Linked DNA regions of Homo sapiens: region 1 is linked to region 2. Evidence: promoter capture Hi-C in 16 types of primary human blood cells and fetal thymus (Javierre and others, 2016). All regions are on one chromosome and are shown on one strand. The core of a region is centred on a gene start or on the middle of the fragment in contact, and the rest is flanking DNA. Distances in the headings are between cores, read along the strand shown. Region 1 holds the start of DTNB (dystrobrevin beta). Region 2 holds the start of FKBP1B (FKBP prolyl isomerase 1B).

What was found. The method cuts DNA at HindIII sites, captures the fragments that hold promoters and counts their contacts. A CHiCAGO score of 5 or more calls a contact.
Region 1: a contact is called between the fragment with the promoter of DTNB here and the fragment with the promoter of FKBP1B in region 2, in 2 of 17 cell types (monocytes and total B cells). The highest score is 5.8, in monocytes.

The regions. Positions count from the first base shown.
Region 1 is chr2:25,671,460-25,678,125 of GRCh38, reverse strand. DTNB (dystrobrevin beta) reads left to right here and starts at 4,549. Exons shown (of 21, transcript NM_021907.5): 1 at 4,549-4,740. RefSeq lists an enhancer at 2,154-2,363 and silencers at 4,512-4,806, 4,171-5,100. The HindIII fragment of the contact is 7,823 bases long and covers 2,583-6,666 here.
Region 2 is chr2:24,043,862-24,051,303 of GRCh38, reverse strand. FKBP1B (FKBP prolyl isomerase 1B) reads right to left here and starts at 1,563. Exons shown (of 4, transcript NM_004116.5): 1 at 1,418-1,563. The coding sequence starts at 1,454. WDCP (WD repeat and coiled coil containing) reads left to right here and starts at 3,913. Exons shown (of 4, transcript NM_025203.3): 1 at 3,913-3,990. It also overlaps the pseudogene RNU6-370P. RefSeq lists a silencer at 1,402-1,701. The HindIII fragment of the contact is 22,874 bases long and covers 812-7,442 here.

The DNA.
Region 1 (6,666 bases), core at 3,300-5,799, 1.6 Mb before region 2:
GTCTTTGGAGTTAGGAATTTGGGTAGGGCTTGGCTGGATGATTCTTCTGTTCCCTGTGGCTTCAACTGAGGTCACTCAGTGGTATTCTGCTGATGTAGGGCTTTCATGACGATTTCACTCATACCAGCAAGAATCAGCTAGGTCCTCTCCTTCTCCATGTAGGACCTTTCTGGGGAGTTACATATTTTACATAGCAGCTTGGGGCTTTAAGAATAAGTGTTCTGGCCAGGCACGGTGGCTCACGCCTGTAATCTCAGCACCTTTGGAGGCTGAGGCGGGTGGCATGAGGTCAGGAGTTCAAGACCAGCCTGGCCAATATGGTGAAACCCCGTCTCTACTAAAAATACAAAAATTAGCCAGGTGTGGTGGTGGGTACCTGTAGTCCCAGCTACTCGGGAGGCGGAGGCAGGAGAATCGCTTGAAACCGGAAGGCAGAGGTTGCAGTGAGCAGAGATCGTGCCACTGCACTCCAGCCTGGGTGAAAGAGTGAAAGTCCATCTCAAAAAAAAAAAAAAAAAAAAAAAAAAAGTGTTCCCAAAGACCAAAGACCCAAACTCAAGTGGACACTTAAAGACTTTTTGTGAACTGGGATTAGAAATCCCAGAATATTGCATGTTCTATTGGCCGAGCAATTCAGTAAGGCCATCCTGGATGGAGAGGAATGATAAAAAAAAAAATTGGCAGCCACGTTTAAAGTCCCGCAGCCCAATTTTCTTTTCTTTCTTTTTTTTTTTTTTTGAGGCAGATTTTCGCTCTTGTTGCCCAAGCTGGAGTGCAATGGCGCAATATCGGCTCACTGCAACCTCCGCCTCCCGGGTTCAAGCGATTCTCCTGCCTCAGCCTCCCGAGTAGCTGGGATCACAGGCGTGCACCACCACACCCGGCTAATTTTGTGCATTTTTAGGAGAAACAGGGTTTCACCATGTTAGCCAGGCTGGTCTCGAACTCCTGACCTCAGGTGATCTGCCCACCTCAGCCTCCCAAAGTGCTGGGATTACAGGTTTGAGCCACCGCACCTGGCCTGCAGTCCAATTTTCTTACCCTTTTAAACAATTTGAACTTTGTACCTGCAGACCTTGAAGATTATTATTATTATCAGTTTAACACTGTAAATAGCATAGCTCTCAGAGTTCAGCCTCTGGCAATTTTCCCAGGTAAATGTAGGCCTTATAGGTTTATATCTTATTTTCAGAAAGATTCTTAGATTATAGCTTCGACATATGTAGCACCCCAGTGACACATATGTTGGATATTCTTTGCTTGTATTCAAATGACATTCCAAAAAGAGACAGAAACAAGCACAAAGGTGTGGAGCCAAGGGGAAGTGGAAACATTCCAGGAGTTTGTATGGTGTGTGTGGAGGAAGCAATAGACGATGGATTGGAGAGAATGGGCAAGGGCTAGATTAAGGGAAGTGCTAGACAGTGACACCAGGGGTGGTAAATTTTTGAAAGCTTTCTCTAATCTGCAGCATGGAAGATGGATTGGAAGCAGCAAGACTGGCAGGGAGACCACATAAAAAGCTGCTGCATGGCCAGGCGCAGTGGCTCACGCCTGTAATCCCAGTACTTTGGGAGGCCAAGGCAGGTGGGGATCACTTGAGGCCAGGAGTTTGAGACCAGGCTGGTCCACATGGTGAAACCCCGTCTCTAACTAAAAATATAAAAATTAGCCAGGCATGATGATGGGCATCTGTAATCCCAGCTACTCAGGAGGCTGAGGCAGGAGAATCGCGTGAACCTGGGAGGCGGAGGTTGCAGTGAGCCAAGATCGTGCCACTGCACTCCAGCCTGGGTGACAGAGCGAGACTCCGTCCCAGAACAAACAAACAAAGCTGCTGCATTAGTTTAGGGGAGGTGGGCTAAGAGGGAAAGATTCTAGTTATTTATTTATGAGGAAGCATCAATGGGACTTAGTGGTTGTTGGGTATGGAGTCAGGGCAGAGGGGTGGTGGGAGAAGAAGGAATCAAGAATGGCCCCCCAGTTTCTGAATTGGTCAACTGGGTGGACAGTAGTTTAGACATGTAGAACGTGGGGTACCTCTAGGACACCCAGGTGGAGAAGTCTGGCGGGCTTTTGTGAATAAGGAACCCAGATGAGTGGCCTGAGCTAGAGAGAGTGCACTTGGGAGTTGCTGATATGCGGTAGATAAAGAAGCGGAGTGGATGGAATGGTCCAGGGAGAATGTGTGGCGTGAGACCAGCTGAGGAGAGAATCTGTGAAACTGAGAAGTGGTCACAGGGGTTAAGACAGGAGTCATGCCATGACACCAAGGGAGTTTCAGAAAGAGTGGGCTACTCTGTTCAATGTCACTGAGAGTTCTAACAATATGAGGACTCAGAGATGGCTTGTGGTATTTAGGATCCAACAAGCCATTCATGACTGAGAGCAATGCAGTGATGTGGTGTGGACAGAAACTACATAGGTTTGAGGAGCTGAGGAGCTGCTGAGGAGGTAGAGATGAGGGTAGATGACTTTCAAGATATTTATGAAGGAAAACTCAGAGAGGGACTAGTAACTGAAGCAGAATCTAGAGGGACAGCGAAAGGGTTTCTTCCTTTTTCTTGAGGACAGGAAAAGCTTAAACATGAATAGATGATGAAGGAAAGAGACAAGTAAAGAGAAGTTGGTAATTTTGGAGTGAGAGGGGGAGAATGATTGAAAGGTGTTTGAAAAGTTTTCTGAGGATGTGGGAGGTGAAGAAATAGAGAACAGAGATGGAGAGATGCCAATACAGTGTCCTTGAAGTATTTAATTCCCTTATGGTTTAGGATTGTCTAGTCCACATATTGAAATTACCTTGGTTTCAATCAATAAACCGAACATATCAAGCGATATTTACACATTTATTTTATATTATTTACACATCTTTTCTCCAAAGAACAGAATCAATGTTTTACCCCTCTCAATGCCTTCCACATAGGGGGTGCTCAAAAAGGGCAAATAAAGAAGCTAGAGGTCTCTTACCTGTATTCTGAGTATCTTAATATGTACAAAACATAGCCAAGACCGTGCCTACAAGAGATAAGTCTCCTCAAGCATGAAAATATTCACACACTTCATATATGTAAGGTAAAAGGTAAAATGTCCATCTTTATTTATTTATTTTGAGACGGAGTCTCACTCTCTTGCCCAGACTTGGAGTACAGTGGTGCGATCTCGACTCACTGCAACCTCTGCCTCCTAGGTTCAGGCGATTCTCCTGCCTCAGCCTCCCAAGTAGCTGGGATTACGGCGTACACCACCACGCCCGGCTAATTTTTGTATTTTTAGTAGAGACAGAGTTTCGCCATGTTGGCCAGGCTGGTCTCGAACCCCTGACCTCAAGTGATCCGTCTGCCTCAGCCTCCCAAAGTGCTGGGATTACAGGCGTGAGCCTCCGCGGCAGGCCAGAAAATGCTCATCTTTTGAGGAACCTATTTGTTCCCATTTAACAAAGTTGGTTATCAGCATTTCCTTCACCATAGGAGTTTAAAAATAAAAAGAGGAGAGGAGGAGGAAGAGGGTGTTCTAAAGGCAGGCAGGCAGGCAGGCAGGCAGCAGCAGGAGGTGGCACGATCTGCCTTACCGTAAGGTGCCAAAAAGCAGTGAAAACCATACTCCCAGCATGCAGGCCTGGGGTCGCTTAGCTCTGGAGCTTACAGCCTTCATCATTGACCAATAGCCCCCAAAGGACGTTGCTGTTTTGAGTCTTAAGTAACGTTGAGAATGACCATTTGAACCATTCAAAAAGTCCTTGCTATATTCTAATTTGGCACCATCTCCTGTATTTCACAGTTTGGAAAGAATTCTATAAAAGATGGATAACAGTAAAACACAAAAAAGCTGGTGCTGAGATGGTAAACCTGGCTGCCCCGGCTCCTTTGCCCAAACTGTTTTCCCAGCCCTAATGTCCTCCCTTTTTCCTCCTAGGACTTCTTTTTCTTCCTTCGAGGTTGACCATAAATGCCGCCTCTAGCCCTCTGCGGCGTCCAAGCAGAAGTCGTCTCTAGCTTCTGTGCCAGCATCGCACCGTGGCTTGGCTCTGCACGGGTCATCGGACTTGGTTGTGTACATGGCTGTTTTCCCCGCTAAGTTTGGGGCGCCTCGAGCCCAGGCGCCGTGACCGTGATCGTGCGCCCACAGGCACCTGGTGCAGCGCGGGGCGCACGCCGCGGCTGGGCTAGCTTGCGGAGTTCACGGGGGTCACTCGGGCACAGGCTTGTGACCCAGGCGCGGAGAATGATTCACGGGGTGGCTCTTTGCATTCTTTGTCGGGTAGTCACGTCGGGCCGGGCACCCCGCCGACGGATACCTGCGGATGGAAAGACACCCGGCCCGACGCCAGCGAGCGGGAGAAGCCTGGATGGAGCCAGCTTCCCGCCTGCCCGGAACCCGCCGGCGACCGGTGGGCGGGGCGCGGCCGCGGGGGCGGGGTGGAGGGGGGTTGCTCGGCCGCTCCCGCCCCCTCCCCGCGCGCGGAAGCCACGCCCCCGGCCGCGCGCTCGCGCTGGGCGCGCGCCCGCCCATCCGCCCTCCGCCCTCCGCCCTCGCGCCCTCGCGCCGGGGGCGGGCGCTGCGCGTGCCGGGCGGAGAAGCGGCGCGAGCCGGGCGCTGCGAACGTTCGCCGCGGGGGTGGCTCCGGGGCCTGAGTAGGCGCTGCCGCTGCCTCAGCCGAGGGGGCTGGGCCGGAGCGTGCGGAGGAGTGAGGCCGCAGGAGACCTTCCCGACGACCCCTGCTCCGGCGGGGAAGTGAGCAAGGTGGGGGTCTGCGGCCGCCGCCGGGGCTGTGGGGAGACGAGCTGGGCTGGAGCCTCGCGCCCGCGAGGTGCGGGACGGCAGCTCGCGCTGCGCCGGGACTGGGGACCCGGGAGCCTGCGGGTGCGGCGCTGCAGGAGTCGGGGAGGGCGCGGGGAGCCGGGGCCGCTGCACCGCGCGCGGCTGCGAGGTGGGACGGCGCGGCTAGCCCCGGAGGGACAGGCAGAGGGGATGCGGCGGATCCCGGGCCGGGAGGGGTATCGGGGTCCGGAACGCGCCGGGGCACGGGCGCGAGCGGGGGCCCGGCGCCGGGCTGATGCTGCCCGAGCCCGGCTCGCCTGGAGGCGGCTCTGCGTTAGGTGCTGAAGGGGCGAGTGAGGCAGGTCCTGGCAGAGGGCAGGTGAGGCGGGCAGGCCCTGGCAGAGGGAAGGGTATTTATTTCAGATCACCCCAAATCACTGTTTCCCGAGGCGCCTAATAGCGAACCTGTCCAGGAGGTCACCCTGGACAGGAAAGAAGTGTCCCGAGACGAGGATGCCGGTGACGAATACTTGCCCTTAAATTCCTGTGCCAGGCCTTGGGATTAGGAAGACCTTCCAGCTACCGTAGGTAGAGACCCGTAGTCAGCACTGGGGCCACGAAATAGTATGGAACACCGTCATGTTATTGAGGTGCTGACAGTGTGGCTGTGAAGATATGCACATGAAATACAAAGGAGCGTCGAATTTTATGTCGCATGCCCTATTTACTTTCGGTCTCTTTTGTCTTTTCCCAGTATTGGGAAATTGGAGCCATAAATTGCGTGGTTTTGGGGATAAAGCAGAAAGGTCAAAAGAAGCCTATGGGAGAAATTTGGGAGAGTTTTGAAGGCTCCTACGGGTAACATTTAAAGGGGGCTCTTAGATGGGGAAAAAAGACGTTTGGAAAGAAAGGAAGTTTCCTTCCTTCCCATCTAGAAATAAGCTCCATGACTATTGACTGCTAAATCTTCAGAATGTTGCCTGGCTCACAGCGGTTGAGCCATAAGTGTCTATTGCATGAATGAATGGACAAGCAAGGTTTGGCCACATTTGCCATGGAGCAGTGTCAGTCACTCTAGTGTTAGGGAAGGTTGCTGGATTTCTCCTGTTCCACAAGTTCTCTCTCTCTGCCTCTTTTTTTTTTTTTTTTTTTTTTTTTTTTTTTGCTATGCGAGGCAACCCCGGTTCTGAGGTCTGGGCACGTTAAAGCAATGGCTAAGGCGGCGAGGTCTTGGTTTCTGTGGCCATGCTACCACTTTCCCATGTGTCTTTCATGTTGGCCTTCAAGAGCTTGCTCCTTGGCCTGTTGCTTGAGATCATCCCATTTTGTTCCTTCTCCCATTGGCTTTTTCTATTACTTGAGAAGGAAGAGGGTAGTGTTGTCTAGAGAACACTTTTTCATTTTGGTCCTGGTTCTTGGGTCTTAGACCTGTAGTGCGAGGCTGTTGGTGCCTCTGCTTTTCTGTAAGGGCTGGAATTCTACCTGTGCTCTGCCTTGGTTGAATCTCTGAACTCTGGAGCTCCAGGCTGCTGTTTCAGTAACCTGGGTTGCAGTGCCTGTTGGGTTACTTTGTCTGCCAAATTAAAACTTGACCTTTTATGAGTTCTCTAAGGATTTTTATCATGCATAAGTGGAATTGCCTTTGAAAGGGGTTGTGCAGTCAAGGTAGTGCTGGCAGAGTTTTTGGATGTCCACTATGCCCGAGAGACAAATTTCTACCTATGGTTAGAAAATTAGACTCAGAACCAAGAGAATTTCAACTTATTGTTTATTTTATGTCTTTATGTTACTCTCTCAGGGCCTTAGTTTCTTCGTGTGAAAAATAAGTAATAATCAAAATCTGGCATTGTATAGGAAGCCTTGAAGAAGTAAATTTATTTCTCCTGTTTCAGGGCTGTACAGCCAGCA
Region 2 (7,442 bases), core at 314-2,813:
GGAGTGCAATGGCACAATCTCAGCTCACTGCAACCTCTGGCTCCCAGGGTCAAGTGATTCTCCTGCCCCAGCCTCCCGAGTAGCTGGGATTACAGGTGCGTACCACCATGCCCAGCTAATTTTTGTATTTTTAGTAGAGACGGGGTTTCAACATGTTGGTCAGGCTGGTCTCGAACTCCTGACCTTGTGATCCGCCCGCCTCAGCCTCCCAAAGTGCTGGGATTACAGGCGTGAGCCACTGCATTTTAAGAAGAGTCTTCAGGCTATGATATAGAAAGGGAGTGAATATGAGATTGGGGACGAGATTGAAAGCAGGGAGGAGAGACTGAAGATGGGGAGATTAGCTCAGGGGCTGCTGAGGGATGAAAAGGCCTCAGGGAGATGCTTTCTGGGACCCAGCAGCAATGTTTCCTGCGTGGGCAAAGAAGCCTGTACTCCAGGGGATATCTGAAGTAGTGGCTGGGATTGGACAAGGAAGATGGCCTGGAGCCAAGAAGTTATCCAATTTCCTGGGGAGGGGAGCTGTTCATATTAATAATATCTGATATGAAGTTTGCCCATCAAACCCTGCAGACAATGGGGGCTTTGGTATTAATTAAATTTCAAGAAATAAAGAAATGGCTATTCCTTGCACACCCAGACCCAGTAATACAAGGACTTGGGAAAGTGAGACACGGAAGGGGGATAAAGAGGATCACTTAGGAGAGAAGGTGGGAAGCGAGAGTTCTGTTTTGGACTTGCTGACCAGGGAGCACCCTGGGACGTCCAGGGAGAGGTTCGGCCGTAGGTCGCAGGGCTGGGCTTAGAAGCTTCAATGTGGAGGCCATGGGAGTGGACAGGGTGGCCAGGGAGTCTGAAAGCGGCGGCAGGATAAAGCGAGATCCGGAAGCGGGCAAGGGAGCGCTTCCCCCTTCCCCAGCCTGGGTCTGTCCCCACAGCCGCTCACAGCCCGGCCCGCAGGGAAGCGACCGAGGGGAGGCCCGGCGGGGGACGCGCTAGGAGGAGGTCCCCGAGCAGCGGGTATCCGAGAGCAGGTCCTGCTTTCCAGAGCTCGCCGAGTAGGGCAGGGAAAGCGAAGCCGAAACCCAGGCTGGGGTATCAGCAGCAGCGGATAACCGAACGACTGCAGCCGCGACAGGAGAAGCCCGGGGCGGTGGCGGGCCGCAGACCCCCGCCTCCGGGCCGCAGACCCCCGCCTCCGAGCTGCCGCCTACATTCCCCTAGGTGAGCGCGGAAGAGGATGGCGGAGGATGGTCTCCTAGACCCCCAAGAATCCCGTCCGGCGTCTCCGCCTGCCTTCCCCATCCAGCCCCCCGACCCTTCAGCACCCTCCACGCCACCTCCGAATCAGACCCCCGCCCTCCGGGCTCCGCCCCGGGACCCCTCCCCTCCCCTGGCTCCGGAGGGAGCCCGGTACCGTCTCCGGGGGAGATGGTCTCGATCTCCACGCCCATAGCGGTCCCACAGGCCCCGCCTCTGGGGGGTCCCTGCTGCTGCCCGACCCCGGCTCGGCTCCGGCCCCAGCCCCGCCGTCGCTCCGGCTCGCCTCCTCGCCGCCACTGCAGAGCCGGAGGAGGTGCGGCTGGAGTCGGGACCTGCGCGGGGAGGGGCCACTGGCAAGGGGGCGGCGGGGCGGAGCCGCGCGGAAAGGTGGGGTCGGCCGGGGCGGGGCCCGGGGGAAGGGACCCCGCCCGGCTGTTAGCGAGCCTGGCCCCGCCTGACGACATTAACCCACTGACCAGGGAGCGTGGTAAGCACAACCACATCCTCCATCCATCCATTCATTCGCGCATCCGTCCAATAGACATTTATTTAGCATCTAATCTGTAGTAAGCTCTGGGAAGTCAACCCAGTCCTACAGACTTGTGGGGGGTGGGGGGCAGAAGGGGCAAAGGCCGGCGATTAAACCATCATTTTATTTTTATTTTTATTTTAGACAGAGGATCTTGCTCTGTCGCCCAGGCTGGAGTCCAGTGGCGCGATCATAGCTCACAGCAACCTCGAACTCTTAGGCTCAAGCGATCCTTCTTCCTCAGCCTCCACCCAAGTAGCTGGGACTAGAGGCGCGAGCAACCACGCCCAGCTAATCTTTTATTTTTTATTTTTATTTTTTGTAGAAACGGGGTCTCGCTGTGTTGCTATCTAATGAAACCATCACTTTAATTAGATGCGCTCAGTGCCGTGCAGTTCAGAGCGTTGCGGAAGCACAGAAGAGGTTCCTACCCTCGCTAGGCGTCCTGGATCTGTAGGAGCAGAGCTGGGGGAGGGAGGGAGGACACCAGTAATTGCTGACTCTCCCCCATACCCCTAAACCCCTGTTCTCCATCTCGTGTAGTTCTGCTCGACGCACATTTATTGGGTACTCAATTTTCAAGGCAAAGAAATGCGCCCTGGGGATACCAATAGAATTAAGACAGGTTGGCTGTCTTCCAGGTACTAAGTCTGAGAGGGACGGGGACACACAGTTACTGCATGGAGTGATTAGTGCTGTGGAATGAATGAATGAATATGTAAATGAATTCTACTTTGAGTTCCTCCTCCACCAAAAAATACATTCAGGAATCTAGAAAAATATTTTTTGGAGGAGGTAATATTTGTTTAAAGGGTAATTGGGACTTTTAAAATTTTTTCCCCCTCATTATTACCTGCATTGTTCCAAAAATTGATGTGAGGCCAAGTATATCAATTTTTGGAACAATGGCTCACACCTGTAATCTCAACACTGTAGGAGACCGAGGCAGGAGGATTGCTTGAGCCTAGAAGTTCAAGACCAGCCTGGGTAACATAGCGAGATCCCGTCTCTCTCTCTCTCCTTTTTTTTTTTTTTTTTTTTGAGACAGAATCTTCACTCTGTCGCCAGGATGGAGTGCAGTGGCACAATCTCGGCTCACTGCAACCTCCGCCTCCCAGGTTCAAGCGATTCTCGTGCCTCAGTCTCCCAAGTAGCTGGGATTACAGGCGTGAGACACCAGCGTTCGGCTAATTTTTAAATTTTTAGTAGAGACAGGGTTTCACCATGTTGGCCAGGCTGGTCTCGAACTCCCGACCTCAGGTTATCCGCCCGCCTCAGCCTCCCAAAGTGCTGGGATTACAGGCATGCCATCTTTATTTTTAAAAAAAGAAAAGAAAAGAAAAAGAAAAACATAAAAACTGATGTGAAGATATGATTCTCCTGAGTGGCACTGGAAGATAGGCATGGGGAGAAAAGCCTGGCAAACTGGTCCAGAATGAGCCCCAAGGGTGTTCTTCCTCCATTTCCTCATCCCCACTCTCCCGGATGCTTAGGTCCCAGATGAGGTTGTCTGCATCCCTGAAGGTGTTCTGGCTGTGTTGTTAAAGAAAGATGATTGTCGACTGTACTGTGAGGGTCAGGACCTGGAATTCCTCATAGGTCTGAAGAAGCCTAAGGGACGCACTAAATCCATAGGCTGCGGCCAGAGCAGGCACGCTTAGGGTCGGGGTAGAACAGGGATTTGTAGCTGGGACAGGCCCATGCAGCGGCTTCAGCTCAATGCACAGTATTTTGTGTACAGATAAGAACATTTTCCTGAGAGATTTTATCAGATTTTAAAGAAGGTTAAAAAGCCGTGGTGATCCTAGGGCTCCTGGACTCCTTAGACAAGAGAACCGACGAGAAGTGGGGAAAGAGCTCAAGTGCTTAAGGGAGGGAAAATGTGGCGGGCTTGCGGTCGGTGGTTTTACGGGGACTACCACTCCCAGCGATCCGTGCGGCAGAGCCAGAGCTTATTGGCCAGTGGGACGAACCCTCTGCTAATGTGCATATTCAAAAGCCAATAGACGGGGCCATCTCGGAGCGTGCCTATCCTATCAGAGGACCACCCACCTATCAGAGGACCGATATCACCGCCCACCTATCAGAGGACTGAGGGCCGGTGCTTCCGGTGGCTGCCCAGAACTTCTTATGTGCGGCGGCGTGATGTTGGGCGGCCACAGAGAGATTGGTGTTTTTGTGAGGCAGTGAGACCTAAGGTATTTCATCTCCACTGCTGCCGGGCCTGGCGGGTGTGGGGAGGCTGTAGGGGGTCAGGAGGGAAGTGGATCGGCTCTTGGTGGGTAGGGGGCGGGAAGGAGGAGATTCAGGCGTGCAGAGAGGATGAGGAGAATGGGGCGGGCCGCGTGTGAGGGGTCGCGGGATGAGGATCGAGCTAGGGGTGGGTGTAAATGAGGGATTATGACCGTGACTCGTGAATAACACTCCTGGGAATATGTCCCAAGGAAGTCATCCAAAGTCAGGAAATGCTTTAAGCCTTAAGACCTCGGTCCGAGCTTTATTTATAGCGGGTAGCGGGATAAAGTTGGGTACAGCTAGGAGCAGTTCAGTACATTATGTCACTTCACTGAGTGTATGTGAAGTGGCCTCTAAAACTAATTTATTAAACTTTTAAATAACATAGGGAAATGCTAATATATAATGTTAGATGAAAACCGTGATACAAAGTTGCACAGTATAACTGAAAAAGTTTGACAGCCAAACTATGCATAGAAGAGTCTAGAGGGATTAGTCATAATTTTCTTTGGATGAATGTTTTTTCGTTAACTCTTCTTAATTTTTTTCTTGTGTATGATTTTTGTTTCCAAATAAGTGTAAAGAACTTGAAATCATTTTATAGTGGAAATACAATAAACTTGGAAAACAAGTTGGGGGAGGGATGTACTTTTGTTTAAACCTGCTGGAAATGCCAGTTCACCTGAATCCCTTGATTCTCGTCATGAGTTGTCTTTAAAGAAGATGAAAAACAGAATTAAATGGTTATATACTGAGCACCGGCTCTTAGTTTTCTGACCACCTCTCCGGAGACCTGAACTAATACAGTGGTCTTTTCCCTCCTAAAACACCCAGGGTTCTTGATTTCATGTTCTCCAAAAAACTTATACTCTGGAGATTGTGAAACAATAGGTATACAATTAGTTTCAGGCAAAATCAGTAGCGTTGGGGAATGCCTGAAGAGCATTTAAACCTTGGTCCTCCTGGCCCTCTGATCTTATACAGTGAGGTTCTCCACTACCTTGACTTTAATGATTAACCCTATGTCAGTGATTTCCAAATCCTTACCTCTGACTGCCTAAGGTACATTGGTACCATGTAGACATCTTACATGAAGCACATGTTAATTTCAATTTGTCACATACTACACACGTTCCTCCCCTACTGCCCCCACCCCCACCTCCCCAACAGGGTCTCACTCTGTCACCCAGGCTGGAATGCAGTGGTGTGATCATAGCTTACTGTAACCTTGAACTCCTGAGCTCAAATCCTCTCAGCCTCCATAGTAACTAGGACTGCAGGTGTGGGACGCTGCACCCAGCTAATTTTTATTTTTATTTTTATTATTTTTTATTTTCCTTTTTTATGGAACGCTTCACAAATTTGCAAGTCATCCCTGTGCAGGGGCCATGCTACGCTCTGTATCATTTCAGTCTTAGTATATGTGCTGCCAAAGTGAGCACCCACCTCATTTTTAAAAATTTTTCTGTAGAATTGGGGTCTCCCTGTGTTGCCTAGGCTGGTCTTGAAATACTGGCATCAAGTGATCCTCCCACCTCAGCCTCCCAAAGTGCTGGGATTACAGGTGTTAGCCACTGTGCCTGCCCTTCCTTTCCTTTCTTCCTTCCCTCCCCCTCCCCCTTCCTTCCTTCCTTCCTTCCTTCCTCTCTCTCTCTCTTTTTTTTTTTTTTTTTTTTGAGATGGAGTCTTGCTCTGTCACCCAGGCTGGAGTGCAGTGGCGCAAACTCGGCTCACTGCAACCTCCGCCAGCCGGGTTCAAGCGATTCTCCTGCTGCAGCCTCCCAAGTAGCTGGAACTACAGGCACACACCACCACGCCCAGCTAATATTGTATTTTTAGTAGAGACAGGGTTTCACCATGTTGGCCAGGGTGGTGTCGAACTCCTGACCTCAGATGATCCACCTGCCTCAGCCTCCCAAAGTGCTGGGATTACAGGCATGAGGCACCACACCCAGCCTGCCCTGCCTTCCTTGCCTTTGAAACATGCTCTGGTTAATGGTTCAGCAGTTTCTCAAGCTAAAAATCTGGGTGTTATCCTTAATTCTTTTTTCCTCCTCACTACTTATATCCTATCGATATCACTGTCTATTCCATCTGCCTTAAAAGCATCTCTTGAATATGGCCTTCTTTCTCTACTGAAATAGTTGCAAACTTGCTTCATTTTCACTTTGTGGCATTCAAATTACTTGTCAACTTTCTTCCTTCTCAGGTCCATTCTGCATATTGTTACTTGAATATATGCTGGTTCCCCCAAGATTCCAAATTCCTCAGCATGCCCTTTATGATCAGAGAATAAACTTAGAAAGATATATCAATATCTGATAATATAAGGTTTTAATTGCCTTGTTAAGACATTTTGAGGCTTTTTATATACTGTAGATGTGGGGATTCATCAAGGGTGTTTATGCAGAAGAGCAAAATGATCACCGCTGTGCTTTTTTTTTTTTTTTTTTTTTTTTAAAGATAATTCTGCCCAACAACACATAGTATGCAGGCTCATTTGGAAAGTAGAGACTGGTATCAAGGGGACCTCTCCTTGTTTTACCCTAATAAAAAGGGAGAAGTCAGAACCTGGGCTAACACAGGAGTAGAAAGGAATGGAGCAGATTTTTGTAATTATCACTGCGTTTTTGAGAAAAATGTGCCACATTTCTTCTTGTTACCGAAGATGACAATATTAAAATTCATTCTTCTAAAAACCTCAGTAAACTGGCCCATGCAGTGGCTCACGCCTGTAATCCTAGCACTTTGGGAGGCCAAGGCAGGAGGATCACTTGAGGTCAGGAGTTCAAGACCAGCCTGGCCAACATGGTGAAACCCAGTCTCTACTAAAAATATAAAAATTAGCTGGGCATGGTGGTGGGCCCCTATCCCAGTTCCTTGGGAGGCTGAGGCACAAGAATCACTTGAACCCAGGAAGCAGAGGTTGCAGTGAGCCCAGATCATGCCACTGCACTCCAGCCTGGGTAACGGAGCAAGACTGTGCCCCCACGCCCCCCCCAAAAAAAAACCTCAGTAAACTTATGTTTGTTTTTCTCTTATTCCCAAATCCTTGTCTTGTGCTACCCTGGCCACACACACCCTCATTGACATTAGACAGAATTTGGTATCCTAAAATATATAAATCGACTTGGATGTAATTGGCCCATTAGGAATTTTCTCTGCCCATGAAAGTGTATCATGGCATTATTTATCAATAAAATTCTTTTTAAAGTACATAAGTAGATATTAGGGAGAAAACATTATTATCTTTCATAAGACCAGTGGGACAGAGATCACAGTTTTCTTCATTAGTAATGACTGGACTTTTTTCTCCGTTTAGCAAGCCGCTGCAGAACCACTGAATCTGACATCATATATAAAAGCATAATAGACCCTTTTTTTTTTTAAGTGAAAGATCCTAAGAGCAAGGACA